3 separate regions of the Homo sapiens genome follow, and all the other regions are linked to region 3. Evidence: promoter capture Hi-C in 16 types of primary human blood cells and fetal thymus (Javierre and others, 2016). All regions are on one chromosome and are shown on one strand. Each heading gives the region's core, a stretch centred on a gene start or on the middle of the fragment in contact. The rest is flanking DNA. Distances are from core to core; before and after follow the strand shown.

Evidence for each region. Contacts are between HindIII fragments. The CHiCAGO score rates a contact against its expected background, and 5 or more counts as called.
Region 1: the fragment with the promoter of P2RY8 here is called in contact with a fragment that was not itself captured in region 3 in 1 of 17 cell types (naive CD8 T cells); the score reaches 7.2 in naive CD8 T cells.
Region 2: a contact is called between the fragment with the promoter of CRLF2 here and a fragment that was not itself captured in region 3, in 4 of 17 cell types (non-activated CD4 T cells, total CD4 T cells, naive CD4 T cells and 1 more). The highest score is 7.9, in non-activated CD4 T cells.

The regions. Positions count from the first base shown.
Region 1 is chrX:1,535,827-1,538,587 of GRCh38, forward strand. It overlaps P2RY8 (P2Y receptor family member 8), which reads right to left and starts at 1,359. Exons shown (of 2, transcript NM_178129.5): 1 at 1,095-1,359. The HindIII fragment of the contact is 32,946 bases long and covers 1-2,761 here.
Region 2 is chrX:1,211,323-1,214,022 of GRCh38, forward strand. It overlaps CRLF2 (cytokine receptor like factor 2), which reads right to left and starts at 1,327. Exons shown (of 8, transcript NM_022148.4): 1 at 1,234-1,327. The coding sequence starts at 1,312. The HindIII fragment of the contact is 4,372 bases long and covers 1-2,700 here.
Region 3 is chrX:2,592,280-2,594,979 of GRCh38, forward strand. The region is part of intron 1 of LINC03112 (long intergenic non-protein coding RNA 3112); the gene reads right to left. Among named protein-coding and RNA genes, the nearest start is that of LINC03112, 16 kb to the right of the region's middle. The HindIII fragment of the contact is 2,495 bases long and covers 86-2,580 here.

The DNA of each region.
Region 1 (2,761 bases), core at 109-2,608, 1.1 Mb before region 3:
CAGGCCTTGTTGTGTGTGGCCTGAAATTCCCAGAGCAGCTCCCTCTGCCTTTTCTCAGCTTTTTAGGGGACAGATCTGACAAGACCCAAGGAATTGGGGTTTCTAAGCGGACCTGTACAAATGAGGTCTGAGGTGGCCGTGAGACCCGGGTCTGGGGTCTCCCTGGCACCGAGGGGGTGACGAGGGGCCACCGTGCTCATCCAGGCACCCATAGGGCTTTAAAACCCGTTTAATTTATGCTTACTCTTCCATTATTGGAACGCTAAGCATTTGGGAGTTATTTATATCCCACGGCTCAAGGTCATCGCCAAGGTCTCATTGCAAACATTGAAAAAACTGCAATCTCAGGCGTAAATGGGTTACGTGCAGCAGCCGCAGCTGCTTACCCTCTCTAAGGTTAACCTCAAGAGAGGCGCATTTCATGGAATGAGTTTTTTTTTGTTTTTTTTTTTCTAAACAGAGTCTCGCTCTGTCGCCCAGGCTGGAGTGCAGTGGCGTGATCTCTGCTCACTGCAAGCTCCACCTCCAGGGATCATGCCATTCTCCTGCCTCAGCCTCCCGAGTAGCTGGGACCGCAGGCGCCCACCACCAAGCCCAGCTAATTTTTGTATTTTTAGTAGAGACGGGGTTTCACCGTGTTAGCCAGGATGGTCTCGAACTCCTGACCTCAGATGATCCACCCACCTCGGTCCCCCAAAGTGCTGGGATTACAGGCACCTGCCACCACGCCTGGCTAATTTTTGTATTTTTAGTAGAGACGGGGTTTCACCGTGTTAGCCAGGATGGTCTCGAACTCCTGACCTCGTGATCCGCCCACCTCGGCCTCTGAAAGTTCATGGAATGAGTTATTAAAGGAAGGGTGGCTTGCAGCCCTGGAAAATTTGAGCATTTCTCCCCTAAGTGACGAAGCGGCTGTGCAAAGTCTTCCTCCCAGGAAATTTGCACTCCTGGTCTGCTCTAGCGTGAGGAGAACACGCCTCATGGAGTTTGCACCGTCTTCCCCCATGTTCTCACCGTACACGGACCCTCCCAGCGACCCTGTCTTCTCCCTTGACAGTGCAGGACAAGCATAAAAGTCCAGCTCGGCGGCTCACCTGTGCAGAAGCAGCGGCAGAAGTAGCAGGTGAGAGCTCAGAGGGTCTCCAGGTAACAGGATGCAACGCTTAAGTCGACGGCCGTGCCTCAGAGCCCGGGACTCGGGGGGCCAGCCACCAGCTTGCAAGCCGTGGTCACTCAAAGTGCTTGAGAAGGTGTTCGTGGGCGGCAGACGGCTGCCCTTCCAGTTCCATCTGTCCAGCAACCTTGCAAAGGCGGCCGCTTCGCTGGGTGGCCCACCGGCTGGCACGACTGTCTCCGAATGCAAATTCTGCAAACTCCACCTCCCAGCGCACCACCACGGTTGCGACTCAGGCTTAGGTGGAAAGGAAGTGTGTTGTGACATTTCCTCTGTAACTGTCTGAACACTCATGTGCAGGGCTGAGCCCACTGGAGTAACGTCGCTGTGTCTCTGGGCAGCACCGTTAACCGCCCACCTCCCTATCACTGGCTCGCAGGGGGCCCTACTCTTAAGAGAACCCTGAGAGTGAGGAAAAGAGGGAGAATGATTTTTCTAAATTTTGTAACCAGCAGTGAAGAGCCGTGGCATGCTCCAGAACCGATTCCTGTTTCTTCTGAAATAACAAAACAAAACAAAGAAAGAACAGAACACGTTTCCTTTTAGACTCTAAAGCTGTGCTCATTGCGACATCTCTTGGTACACAGCCAGACTGTGACAAGCGAACAGACCTTGGGCACTGATCATTCCGGCTCTCACAGTTGGTCACGGGCGCTGCAGGCTCATATCCTCAACATCCCATGGGGGATCGGCCAGTTTCAGGAATGAGAACCAGGTTTCCGAGCTCTGGTATCCTTGCTTGTGAGGAGCAACGGTTGGTTCTTGTCACTCGTGGGAGGAGGTTGAGAGGGAAGGATCTGTCACTGAGAAAGAATGAATGAATATTGAACCACTGCTCAGGGAAAAGACATGGTAGAATCAATCCCTCAAGCCAGGCTGGGTGTGGTGGCTCACGCCTGTAGTCCCAGCACTTTGGGAGGCCAAGGCGGGTGGATCACTTCAGGTCAGGAGTTTGAGACCAGCCTGGCCAACATGGCGAAATCCCGTCCCTACTAAAAACACAAAAATTAGCTGGGTGTGGTGGTGGACACCTGTAGTCCCAGCTACTGGGGAGGCTGAGGCAGGAGAATCACTTGAACCTGGGAGGTGGAGGTTGCAGTGAGCCAAGATCAGGCCATTGCACTCCAGTCTGGGTGACAGTGAGACTGTCCCAAAAAACAAACAAACAAACAAAAAGACCAGGCCTGCTGGCTCACGCCTATAATCCCAGCACTTTGGGAGGCCAAGGCGGGTGGATCACTTGAGGTCAGGAGTTCGAGACCAGCCTGGCCAACATAGCGAAATCCCGTCCCTACTAAAAATACAAAAATTAGCTGGGCATGGTGGTGGATGCCTGTAATCCTAGCTACTGGGGAGGCTGAGGCAGGAGAATCACTTGAACCCGGGAGCTGGAGGTTGCAGTGAGCCAAGATCAGGCCATTGCACTCCAGCCTGGGTAACAGAGTGAGACTGTCTCAAAAAAAAAAAAAAAGTCGAGGCCTGGTGGCTCACACCTGTATTCCCAGCACTTTGAGGTGCCAAGGTGGGCCGGATCACTTGAGGTCAGGAGTTCGAGACCAGCCTGGCCAACATAGCGAAACCTGTCCC
Region 2 (2,700 bases), core at 77-2,576, 1.4 Mb before region 3:
AGATGGATGTATTGGTGGGTGGATGGGTGGATGGGTGGATGGATGGATGGATGGATGGATGGATGGATGGATGGATGGATAAGTGGATAAAAGTGTGGGTGAATGCATGGATAGATGGATGTATTGGTGGATGGATGGGTGGATGGGTGGATGGATGGATGGATGGATGGATAAGTGGATAAAAGTGTGGGTGAATGCATGGATAGATGGATGTATTGGTGGATGGATGGGTGGATGGATGGATGGATGGATAAGTGGATAAAAGTGTGGGTGAATGCATGGATAGATGGATGTATTGGTGGATGGATGGGTGGATGGATGGATGGATGGATAAGTGGATAAAAGTGTGGGTGAATGCATGGATGGATGGATGTATTGGTGGATGGATGGGTGGATGGGTGGATGGATGGATGGATGGATGGATAAGTGGATAAAAGTGTGGGTGAATGCATGGATAGATGGATGTATTGGTGGATGGATGGGTGGATGGATGGATGGATGGATAAGTGGATAAAAGTGTGGGTGAATGCATGGATGGATGGATGTATTGGTAGATGGATGGGTGGATGGGTGGATGGATGGATGGATGTATTGGTGGATGGATGGGTGGATGGGTGGATGGATGGATGGATGGATGATAGATGGGTGGATGGGAGGATGGATAGATAACAGCTGGGTGGATGGTGGATGGATGGATGAGTGAATGAAAGGTTGGGTGGACGGATGGCTGGGTGGGTTGATGGGTGGGTGAATGTATGAGTGGATGAATCGTTTGATAGATGGGTGGATGGATATATTAGTGGATGGATCAATGAATAATAGATGGATGGATAGTGGATGGATGGGTGATTAATGGGAAAAGATAGATGAGATACATTGATGGATAGATTAAAAATGAATATATCTACCAATCAATCAATCAATAGATAGACACACACACGCACACATACAGTTCCTAGTTCTGGCCACCGAAAGCTCATATAAGCAGTGGATATTCCGGGAGCAATAAGTATACTTAATATTCATGTATTTACTTATAAATATGTTTTGTCCCAGCTACTTGAGAAGCTGAGGCAGGAGAATTGCTTGAACCCGGAAAAAAAAAAAAAAAAAAAAGAAAAGAAGAAAGAAACCTCCATGCTCATTGTTTAAGTTTTACAAAATAAAGAGTGCCTGGTTGCAAAGCAAACCACAAACCAAAATACAACAAGAAGAGGGTGTTTAAATAATTACCTGCTCCTCCTTGCCCCAAAGCCATCCAGCCTCCCAGCAGAAAGACGGCAGCTCCCCACAGCAGAACCAGCCGCCCCATGCCTGAAACAGGAGTGGAGAGTGAGGTCCTCAGGGACCTACAACGAACAGATCACTCATGACTCATAAGCAGAGGTCACCATCGATTTTAAAAAGTCAGAAAGGAAACTAGGGAAATGATTACAGGCAGGAAGCACAGTGACAGTTGATTTTCAAAGATACACTTGTCAAGAACACACACACACACACACACACACACACACACAATCAATCCAGGATCAGGACTGCCACGCACACTGCTGAGCTGAGCCCTCCCCTTCCCTCCCCCTCCCCCATCTCCTCCCCCTCCCCTCCATTCCCTTCCCTCCCTCCCCCTCCCCTCCCCTCCCCTCCATTCCCTCCCCACTCCCCTCCCCTCCCCCTTCCCCTCCCCTCTCTTTCCTTCCTTTCCCTTCCCCTCCCCTCCCCTCTCCCCTCCCCTTCCCCCTCTCCCCTCCCCTTCCCCCTCCCCTCCCCTCCCTTCCCTTCCTTTCACTTCCCCTCCCCCTCCCCTCTCCCCTCCCCTCCATCCCCTCCCCTCCCCTCCCTTCCCTTCTGCCTCTCCCCCACCCCCTCCTCCCTCCCCTCCCCCTCCCCCTTCCCTTTCCTCCCCTCCCCTCCTCCTCCCCACCTCCCCTCCCCCTCCCCTCCCCCTTCCCTCCCCTCCCCCTTCCCTCCCCTCCCTTCCCTTCCTTTCCCTTCCCCTCCCTTCCCCTTCCCCCCCACCCCACCCCCTCCCTTCCCATCCCCCTCCCATCCCCTCATCTTTTGTCCCCCTCCCTTCCCCCACCCCCTCCACCTATCCCCTCCCCTCCCCTCCATGGATGGTATATGGATGGATGGATAAGTGGATGAAAGGATGTGTGGATAGGTGGGTGGATGGATGGATAAATGGATGAACAGATACATAGGTGGATGGGTGGATGGATGCATGCATAGATGGATACGTAGATGTGTACATCCCCTCCCCTCCCTTCCCCTCCCCCCTCCCCCCACCCCCTCCTCCCTCCCCTCTCCCTCCCCCTTCCGTCTCCTCCCCTCCCCCTCCCCTCTCCTCCCCTCCCCCTCCCCACCTCCCCTTCCTTTCTCTTGCTTTTCCTTTCTTTTTTTTTGAGCTGGAGTCTCACTCTCTGTCACCCAGGCTGGAGTGCAGTGGCACGATCTTGGCTCACTGCAACCTCCTCCTCCCGGGTTCAAGCGATTCTCCTGCCTCAGCCTCCTGAGTAGCTGGGATTACAGGCGCCCACCACCACGCCTGGCTAATTTTTATATTTTTAGTAGAGATGGGGTTTCACCATGTTGGCCAGGCTGGTCTCAAACTCCTGACTTCAAGTGATCGGCCCGCTTCAGCCTCTCAAAGTGCTGGGATTATAGGCGTGAGCCACCGTGCCCAGCTTTTCTTTCCTATTC
Region 3 (2,700 bases), core at 83-2,582:
CTCCTGACCTCAGGTGATCCGCCCACCTCAGCGTCTATTCTTTGTAACAATCATGTGCCTTGATTTAAGAATTCCCATGTGCTCAAGCTTCTTGACCATCAGAGTGATTGTAAGATAAAGTAAGAATGAGACACCTTGAGGTCTCATTCAGGCCAGTGGGGATGTGTGGGGAAAACAAACAAACAAACCAAAAAAACAGGAAATATGGGTTAGTCACTAACCCTTTAATGGTGTTTCCTGTGTGTTAAAACTTTTTACGTAGAGCCACTGCCTCTCAGGTAGGCAGGACTGTGTCCTTTGTCAAATGAAATAGTGGGGGCAGCAAGTTGAAATCACCTGTGTGATTTAAACCCATGCATTACTTGGGGGAGAACTGTTGACATAATTCAGTGTCAACAGGGGAAGGAACATGTTCTCTTTCCAGAAGGGTATAAAGGTACTGGCCAGGTGCAGTGGCTCACGCCTGTAATCCCAGCACTTTGGGAGGCCGAGGCAGGTGGATCACCTGAAGTCAAGGAGTTCATGACCGGCCTGGCCAACATGGTGAAACCCCGTCTCTACTAAAAATGCAAAAATTAGCAGGGCACGGAAGCAGGCGCCTGTAGTCCTAACTACTCGGGAGGCTGAGGCGGGAGAATCACTTGAACCCAGGAGGCGGAGACTGCAGTGAGCCGAGATTGCTCCACAACACTCCAGCCTGGGCGACAGAGTGAGTCTCTGTCTCAAAACAAACAAACAAACAAATATATATATATATAATATAATATAATATCAGACCAGCTAAAATCACATGTATATGTGGGTCAAACATAAATGTGGTGTTTGAAATGTCCCTTTTCTTTGACACAAAACTTCATTTTTCAAGTATAAAGCCCGATTTTGATGCCCATTTGCGGTGTGCAAGTCCTCATTATTCCAATGCTTCAGAGTCCGTGTTACAGGCAGAAATGTAAATATTTATTCTGTAATCGTCCTTTAATTTTTTTTTGTTCTTTCCTGCATCACAAAGTTTTTGACTGGCTGTTTCGGAAGACTATGTGATAGTTTCCTTTAACAGGGGGAGAAGAGCCCTTCATGATGGCGCTGAAGAATGATGATGCCTGTGTGTGTGCGGACCTGACCAAATTCTCAGGTTTGGGGTTACCCTCTAGATAAAGATTCTGATGGGGAGAGGGAGCTGTGATTTAGTTAATGCTTATCTGACTGCGCCACCTACCGGCTCGGCAGGGAATATGCTGCCTGCCTCTGAGGTTTTCACCGAGGCTGGGTACGGTGGCTCACGCCTGTCATCCCAGCACTTTGGGAGGCCGAGGCGGGAGGATCACGAGGTCAGGAGTTCGAGACCAGCCTGGCCAACATGGTGAAACCCCCGTCTCTATTAAAAGTACAAAAAATTAGCCTGGCGTGATGGTCGGGCGCCTGTAGTCCCAGCTACTCGGGAGGCTGAAGCAGGAGAATGGCGTGAACCCGGAAGGCGGAGTTTGCAGTGAGCCGAGATCTCACCACTACACTCCAGCCTGGGCGACAGAGCGAGATTCCATCTCAAATTAAAAAAAAAAAAAAAAAAGGTGTGTGTACCCCTGCACCCCTGCAAGGGGACACGAGGCACCATGGCCACCTGTCATCGTTCTTAGATCTGAGAAGAGTGAAAAAAAAAAAAGTGCTGTGTACAGATAGATTTTGGAGTTTTAAAGCCTGCTTGCTGTGGGAGACTTTTCAGTATTCAAACTTTTATATTTAAGTACAATTTTTGATGATGTTGTGTCTTTTTTTTTTTGAAATGGGGGTCTTGTTCTGTCACCCAGGCTAGAAAGAAGTGGTGCCATCACAGCTCACTGCAGCCTTGACATCCTGGGGGCAAGCAATCCTCCCACCTCAGCCTCCAGACCAGCTAAAATCACAGGCGTGTGCCACCATGCTCAGCTAATATGTTTGTTTGTTTGTTTTGTAGAGACGAGGTATCACTATGTTGTCCAGGGTGGTCTTGAACTCTTGAACTCAAGAAATCCTCCTGCCTTAGTCTCCCAAAGTGCTAGGATTACAGACGTGCGTTACCGTGTGCAACCTGATATTTTATCTGACAATGGTAGGGAGGGGCCAGAAGAGTCAGGGAGAGGGAGATGGAGACAGAAAGGAAAAGGAATAAAGAGAGAGAGAGAGAGACAAGGAGAGAGAGACTGATGGAAATTCTTTTTCCACCAACCGAGAAGAGAAGCAGCATCCCATCAGAGGGGGTTGATCCAAGCCATCTACTGTATTAGTTCATGAGAAATGACTGGCTGTAACACATGAGCCCTGGAATTTCTGTGGCTTAACAATTAAATAATTATTTCTCACTCATCCAGTTGTCCAGTGTAAGACTTAGGGACCCCTGAGCAGGCGGCCAGCTCTCAGCAAAGACAGCACAGTACCAGGGAAGGGTCACAGGAATTTTGGCACATGGCCAGCTGGTTCCACTGCACCTGCCCAGGGACGCTGGTCTCCAGGCTCCTGGCTTCTCAGCCTCAGCACAGATGTCTGCATCCCCAGAATTTTAAGGGAGGCTGCTGGAAGCCGGGGCAGGAGGTGGGATGAGAATGAAGCTTTTCAGAGCAGAGACCATAACAGACCAATTTTCAAATTGTCTGAAAATGGAGCATGACCCAAATTCTTAGGAGACTCTAGGGAGGAGAGGGAACCGCAATAATAGCCGACATCACA